Regions from separate parts of the Homo sapiens genome. Here region 1 is linked to region 2. Evidence: promoter capture Hi-C in 16 types of primary human blood cells and fetal thymus (Javierre and others, 2016). All regions are on one chromosome and are shown on one strand. Each heading gives the region's core, a stretch centred on a gene start or on the middle of the fragment in contact. The rest is flanking DNA. Distances are from core to core; before and after follow the strand shown. Region 1 overlaps CRBN (cereblon). Region 2 holds the start of EGOT (eosinophil granule ontogeny transcript).

What was found. The method cuts DNA at HindIII sites, captures the fragments that hold promoters and counts their contacts. A CHiCAGO score of 5 or more calls a contact.
Region 1: a contact is called between a fragment that was not itself captured here and the fragment with the promoter of EGOT in region 2, in 1 of 17 cell types (naive B cells). The highest score is 5.5, in naive B cells.

Annotation. Positions count from the first base shown.
Region 1 is chr3:3,167,090-3,170,895 of GRCh38, reverse strand. It overlaps CRBN (cereblon), which reads left to right. Exons shown (of 11, transcript NM_016302.4): 5 at 3,103-3,262. Among named protein-coding and RNA genes, the nearest start is that of CRBN, 11 kb to the left of the region's middle. The HindIII fragment of the contact is 8,322 bases long and covers 1-3,806 here.
Region 2 is chr3:4,749,027-4,753,012 of GRCh38, reverse strand. It overlaps EGOT (eosinophil granule ontogeny transcript), which reads left to right and starts at 1,423. Exons shown (of 2, transcript NR_004428.1): 1 at 1,423-2,067; 2 at 3,003-3,821. All of the region lies in intron 44 of ITPR1 (inositol 1,4,5-trisphosphate receptor type 1), which reads right to left. RefSeq lists an enhancer at 3,301-3,370. The HindIII fragment of the contact is 1,839 bases long and covers 411-2,249 here.

The DNA.
Region 1 (3,806 bases), core at 1,232-3,731, 1.6 Mb after region 2:
AGGCAGAGGTTGTGGTGAGCCAAGATGGCACCACTGCACTCCAGCCTGGGCAACAAGAGGAAAACTCCATCTCAAAGGAAAAAAAAGATTAACATCAAACTGATACAGGTGGACAAGACTTGGAAAGGGCACATTCTCTCTAGTATTCTGTAGACCCATTATTAAGGCCTCTCATAAGGGTATGTCTGTCTTCATTTAAAAGGCCTCTGTGGAATGAGATTTCTCTTGGCTCCACTACTTCTCTGGCCCTGTAACCACCTTCACTGGAAATGGTGAAATGAAAGAAATTCTGGAGTTGATTTAGTTCAGTCTCGTCTTTTTCTGTATCAGAATGCCAGGTACTAGAGAGGTTAAGTAATTTGCTTAAACAGCAAATAAGCGACAGACCTGATTGGTTCTAGGTCCCATGACTTCCAAACTGGTACTCCTTCCATTATACCAGAATTTCTCTATAACACATTTGAAACTCAAGCCAGCTTCCCTTTCTCCAGTAAAATATTTAATATTCATTTGTTTTTCTTAGAGAAATAAGCATATAGAAAAATAAAAATTAAAAAATATAAATATCCATCTTTTACCTAAATGACACTTCATTTATTAAAAGTACACTACAGAGGCCAGGTGTGGTGACTCATACCTGTAATTTCAGCCCTCTGGAAGGCCAAGGTATGTGAATCATTTAAGGCCAGCAGTTCAAGACCAGCTTGGCCAACATGGTGAAGCTGCATCACTACTAAAAATACAAGAAATTAGCTGGGCATGGTGGCCTGTGCCTGTAATTCCAGCTGTTCGGGAGGCTGAGGCATGAGAACCACTTGAACCTGGGAGGCAGAGGTTGCACTGAGCAGAGATTATACCGCTGCACTCCAGCTTCGCCAACAGTGAGACTCCATCTCAAAAAAGAAAAAAAGTATACAACCCCCAAAGTCATGAGTGTGTGTGGGTTGGGGAGGGCGGAGGGGGGGTGGGCATCTTCTGAACACATAGAAATTTTTTTTTAATAAAAACAGGTCTCACTGACATAGGACTCTTCAGAAGTTCCTACTTCTTAGCATGTAGAGAGGAGGAGGGGATTGATATCCTATTGGCATCACAAGAGAAGATCTCTTACCTGTCTAGACTGAGACCAATAATTGTTAGTCAAAAAGTTAGCTGAAGCTGGAAATCACAAAATGTTACACATATATAGCTTAAACATTTTATTTTAACTTTATAAATTCATTCATTTTTCATCTGGAGAGACCAAGGTCTTTCCATTGAAGCAGTTCTGCAGATTGGAGATGACTGTAGACTTTCTGGCACTTTCATTGTACATTATCCACAGTTTATACTGCTAGTTTTTCTTTAAAGAGGGATTCTAAAGATAGTCACAAGGCAATTTGAGTGCAGAATTTTTCCAGATTTGTGCGGTTTTTTTCCTATTAGAGTAGTCTGTACCTAATTTGAAAGCAGTTTATGTCTCAACTTAATGTTCCTTGAAGCAGTTTTATTGTTGAAGTCATATTTCACTGGTTTTTATAACATTTATATAAATTATGTTGCTGTAATCACAAAACAACTGTGATAAACAAGTTGGAAAGAAAAAAAACTAGCTTATGTTAAAAACAAAACTCAGCTGCTGGGAGAAGAACCAGCCACTGCATATGCAGTGGACCCTGGCCATGTTTAACCAGGTAAAGGAGAGCATTCCTTAATCCTTCAAGGCAATTCAGACAGTTTGTACTGCAGACTAATTAACATGATCTGTAAGCCAGGGGATCAATAATGTTACTGTTTTTATCATAATCAAATCTTATACAATAGTTGGGTAAAGCATAGTTCTTAATTCAGTTACCTATAACCTTGAAGAATCAGATTTCTAAAAATTTCTATAGGATGGTATATACTTTTACCTTCATAATGTAATTAACAAGTTATTTGTGTTCATGAATCAGGTGAAGAAAATTGAGATTTTGTTTCTAATGAGCTCTAATAATAATATAAGAACACTTGACCATAATTTGACTATAGTAAAATTTTTTAACATTTTCCGAAGTCATGTAGACAAATTTTCTGAGTATTTCTAATGAGTTTGCAGGAAGGAAATAAAGTTAGTAGAGTGAGTCTACTATTATCATTAAATTAAACTTAGATACTTTCTAACACACTCAGTTATTTTTCCTTCTAATAAATAAGTAAAATGTCAGAATTTCATCCATAATATCTTGTGGTCAAACAGTGGTTATTATGAAAGACTACTTTAGAAGTCTTAAGTATAACTAATAAAGCAGAGACTTTTAATATATTTGACTTTGTCAGTCTGACAGTGTTATATACTAGCATTTGAATATAGTTACATATTCTACATTTCAGAAGCTACACTCTAAGAGATAGAATGCCTCACAGGAAGATAGCTCATAGATACAACCTTCCTGTTTGCACTAGTTCATGATAAGATGTTTGCAATTATGATATTCTCAAGTAGCATTTTGGAAATGACTTTATTATGACATTTTAAATAACTTTTAAGAAAAAATCTAATTTATAGTTTGATCCTTTGTACAGTTAAACTCTTAAGAACGTGAAAAGGAATGCACACAGAAAGGTTGCATGTAACTCTCTAGTGTTATTTTAATTCATCCATGTAAATGCATTCTTGATTTTTCTCTTCCTTTCTCTACTTAGATTAGATGACTTATGAGAAAGGATAGATGTAAGAGTTAAGCAGCATAAGAAGTGGGGGGATAGAAGAATTTGGGTGTCTTAAGAATGTTTAAGAAAGTAGAAGTATCAAGCAGTAGTTGGTTGTATGTTGGTTTTTTTAAAACTTTGTTTCATTTATAGACTCTGTATTTATCTGAAATGTGTAGATCTCCCTTTCCATTCCACAGTGACATTGAAGATCCGTACCTTAGGTTATCTTTGGTTTTAACTTTGGTATGATTTATGAAATAAAATTATTTTCTGAAAGTTTCTGTATCTTAACATCAGTATTTGATGAATATGTTTAAAAGATAAAACTTGGAAAATCTTGGTATTTAAAATTATCACTGTTTAGAAACTTATAGTTTTGAGTTAGTCAATCTTAGAAATGAATACCATGCTTGGTTCTCTTTATTTTAGAATCCAGCAAGCTAAAGTGCAAATTCTTCCCGAATGTGTGTTGCCTTCAACCATGTCTGCAGTTCAATTAGAATCCCTCAATAAGTGCCAGATATTTCCTTCAAAACCTGTCTCAAGAGAAGACCAATGTTCATATAAATGGTGGCAGAAATACCAGAAGGTGAGAAACTAATTTTTTATGCATCTTCAAAAAATGAAGACAGGTTGTTTTTTTTCCTGTTTTAAGAAAGAAACACAACTTTCATGATTCATTACCCAGCCACCTTGTATGGCAATATTCCAGCTACATTTGATCCTCTAAAAATTGCACAGGCAGCTACTTTATGTAAAAGCAGTTTACAAAAGCAATAAAATGTCACACAGCTGTAAGGTATCCTTGTTATTATGCTTATCAGCTATATTAATCGCTTTTGATTTTTAATTCCATGGGAAATGCTTATTAAACTATGATCAAATTAGATGTTCGGCTCTTGAGTTATAAACATCCATTATCTTAAAGAAGGGAGGATTCTTTTGGGGTAGAGTAGTAGTAGAGAAGTAGAGTCTGTTTTCCTTCTTCCAAACCAGAGAGAAAGGTTTCTTTTGCTATGTGTTTTAATGAAATACAGTTGACATCGCAGAAATTGACTTGAGACTAGGTGCTCTTTAAAAATGTTGCTTGTTTGGGCACTAATTCCTATGTTATATCCTTTGACTAAATCATA
Region 2 (3,986 bases), core at 174-2,673:
CCACGCTTCGTGGCGCCTGTTTGCTTCCCCATCACACTTCTCTGAAGCTCTGATTTAGCTGATGATGAGCTGATTTCCTAGCTCTGTCTCCCACAAGACTGTAAGCTCCTGGAGGGCAGGGGCTATGTTGGTCTCATCCCTGACTGTATTGACGCCAATGTGTATAGCACCTGACACCCAGGGAGTGCTCAGTAAGTAAACATCTGCTATATTAAGCCGGCTGTGGTGACACAAGCCAGTAGTTCTAGCTACTCCGGAGGCTGAGACAGAAAGATCTCTTCAGCCCAGGAGTTCAAGGCCAGCTTGGTCAACACAGTAAGGCCTCTTCTCTCTTTTTAAAAAATTTACTATATTAATGAATGAACAATAATCCTGAAGGAGGTGCAATTCCGAAACACTCAAGCCAAGCTTTGCATCCATGGCAGCTGAAGTATAACTTTATGGCCAGAAGAAGCCTGCATGTGAAAGCTCAAAGTCCTGCTAAGTGGGAATATGCAGCACACCGCAGACCAGCCAAAGGCAGCTGATGTGGTGTTGTCACCTCTACGGGCTTATCCGGTTTTTGCACGTAACTCTGTGATGGGCTCAGCCTGGCTGAGGATCCTTAATCCATCGAGTTAACTGTTAACTACCCCGGCCCCAGTGACACAGCAGCTTGCATGATTAACTACAGCCCGGGAGGGATGATCATTTGTGCACCTTCCGTCTCCAAACCTGGCTCCCTCCCCAGACTTGATAGCTACAAGCTCTGGGCTCAACAGTTTGTGGGTTTGTGTTGCAAGGAGGCTAATAAAAACATATTTCTCAAATACCATATGGTGAGGGCAACTGCAACACATCCTCCTCGAAGAGCAATAAAATATATATATTTTTAAAGTCCTGAATTCCAGGGGAAAAACGAGGCTTGAAGACTTCAGAGGGTTTACAGGACTATCCCCTTCAGTGTCAGAGCCATCTTGATCAAAAGTCTAAAACCCAGGAATAGGAAATTGGTAGAAACTTTGAGAGAGCCTCTGACAGTTTCAAAGAGGAACTCAGAGGACCTCAGGAAATGTGAGCGGGCATAGATTTCTCCGTGAAAAGGAGGGTCAAGGCAGAAGAACCAGAGGCAACTGTGAACATCAAGTCAGTTCTCAGGGAAGCAGGGGATCCAAGTGTGTACATGAGGCGCCTTCACTGTCCCTGCATCAGGAATCTAGCTGTTGGCACCTTATAATGAGAAAACAGTCTCAACCATGAAGTTAACTCTGCTGGAAGATTTCCAAAGGGAAAGTCCCTCCCGTTACTCAGAGGGGAAAAAAAAATTACCTACTTGGTCTGGAATCCGGGGATATTTTATGCAGATGTCTCTAACAGAAGTTAATAAAGGGAAGTCAGCTTGCCTCTGATTATTCAAACAGGCTACTGCTATTAAGGATTGCACAACTTCTGGGCAAGGCAGAGGTGGGTTTGGCTTTTTAAAAATTTTTTCAGCCTGTCCTCATGGAACTACATATTCTTTTCTAAGAACTTTTCATCCTAACCTCCCTACTCACATCTTCTAAGTGTCTCTGCTCTGGTGGGAATGTGATGGACAACACAGAGCCATCTCAGAAGCCTCTGTGGCCACCACCAGGCCGGCCAGGGTGCAGGGGGCCACTCCCTGGGCAGCCATAGGGTTCTCAGCAAGGTGCATTCGTCGTCCCTGCTGAGAATCTGATGGGGCAGCATTTTTTTTTTTAATTAAATGCAAGCTGAGTCATTTCAACCTGCAACCTTCAGGTAACAGGAGTTACCCAAGCTCCAGGAATTATGATTGTGGGGTAAACCCATTCTCTTGTTTTCTTGCGGTTCTATTTTATAACGCACTAGAGGAGACAGAGACGTCATTGCTTCACCCAGGGCAAGAGGACAAAGGAGGATGCATGGAAATACAAACAGCCCTTCTCCTCCAGGCCATACCGACTGTCCAACTAGCAACAGACTTCACCTGGTTTTGGAGCAATCTGAATTTGGAATATGCCAGAGAAAACTTCTATCAGGCAAGATGGAAGACTCCTAGGATAGGTCTCTCTCATGGAGGGATTGGTAATAAAAAAATCATGGGAAAAGAAATAAGGGAGGGTGGAAAAAACACACCTTAGAAAACAACTTCTGATGTCCCGGGGCTACACAATGGGGGAGCTGAGCACTTAGGAAGGAGAGGGAAAATATTCTGTTTCCGGAGACAGCTCCAAGAATCATGAGTAGGTGTGAGAAACAAGGAAGCTTACAGATTTAAAAAAAAAAAGAAAGAAAGAAAGGAAGGGGGCAAAAGGAAGGAGTCAGGGAAGGGGGGAGTGAGATCTTTGAGAGACAGGGGAATTAAAAAACACCATAGCAACAACGCAGTCCACCTACCCTGGCCGCCCACCCACAGCCAGATTCTTTACTGACGCATTTGAGAACAAGCTGGTTCCTACCAGCTCAGGAAGGTGAGCAAACCCAGAGAGCTCATTAAATCCCTTCTCAGCGACTCTTGTCTGCCTGCAGATAGTGAGCAAGGAGGATATAAATAGAAGTTATATAACATCTCTTTGTTGATTCCTGTGCTTACCAAAAAAAAATGCAGCATGACCTTGTTTTTCTTTAGAGTTTGCCTCGGCCTGCTGGTTGAGGACTTTAATCCAGATAGGAATCATCTTGAAGTTTAAACAGCAGGATATAGATTTCCAAGTTAAGGGTGCTCTGCATGGCCATCCAAGTTAGGAACCCACAGGGTCAAGTCCTCCTCCGCGGATTAAAAAAAAAAAAATCCACCAGCTCTAAAACAACAACAGCAGGTATGGAATCTTGTGGCTTCCTCTTAGAACATCTCCTGAGGTAAATTAAGGAGTAAATTTGATACCCAAGAGCAAAGCATCATTAAAATGGCATCTTGGGTTTTCTAAAGGAGGTTCGAGCACCACAGGTATATTCAAAGGTAACTGGTGGTTTCCACATACCCTCCAGGCCTAAGCAGTTGTCTTTTTGTTCCTTAACAGGCACGATGGTAAGAGTCCAGTGGATGGAAAAGGCCTCCTCCTTAAAGATGGTGATGGAAACGAGCACTGCACAGGGAAACACAAATCAGGTCCCCTGAAATCCAGCCCAACCTGGCCAGACCCTCCAGTGCCCATCAGGGCTTATGAACAGGGTGCTTCAGTGTCTTTGTTAGGGGTGGTTAAAAAGGAGCACGTGCTTATAGGGGATGCTGCTGAGCTCCATGATTTTGACTTCCTGTCTAACCTGTTGATGCTACAAAACTCTTTTAAAAACAGTTACCATGGGAACTTTTCCCTAGCAAGCATTCTTCAAGAAACGTTACAGGTGCTGGTGAATTCAATGCCCTTGGTGTCAATAAGCTTTTGCTGAGTCTTAGAATGTGTGGCTTGAACTGAGAGGACTTTCAAACAGATAATGCGAAGTTTCCAATGCAAATGTCTTCGGGGTTAAGTGTCAGTGAAGTGCAGTGGAAGGTAGGGGGATAAAATGATCTCAGTGTATATGGAGGCCCCACTTAAGCATTCAAAAAATTCTATATACAGTGTTTTCAATGTATTATGTATCAGCAAAACAAAATACCCCATAGGGCTATAATCAGCTCAGGGGGTCACCTCAGCAAGAGATGCTCTGGCTATCACTCCTACTACGGGATTTCCTCTCTCATCAGAACCAGTAGGTGGTCAAAACCACAATAATGCATAAATGAAGGCAGGGAATTGGGTATCCAATGTGAGCAACTGAAAAGGTGCCATGTATTAGCTATTTGCCATTATGGTTCTGCAAGTGCTCAGATGACTCATAAAATGACCAGAACAAAAGTTTGTTCTTTTGTTTTTACTTTGAGAAGATAAAGAATCACGAATTAGTATTCAAGGTTACCTAATACTAACCCTTGTCTACCACGTGACCTTGCATTACAGGGAGCTGTTGTTGGGACAGGACAAGAGTCCACATCCCCTGCCCAGTGCCTGGTTCTGGGTCAT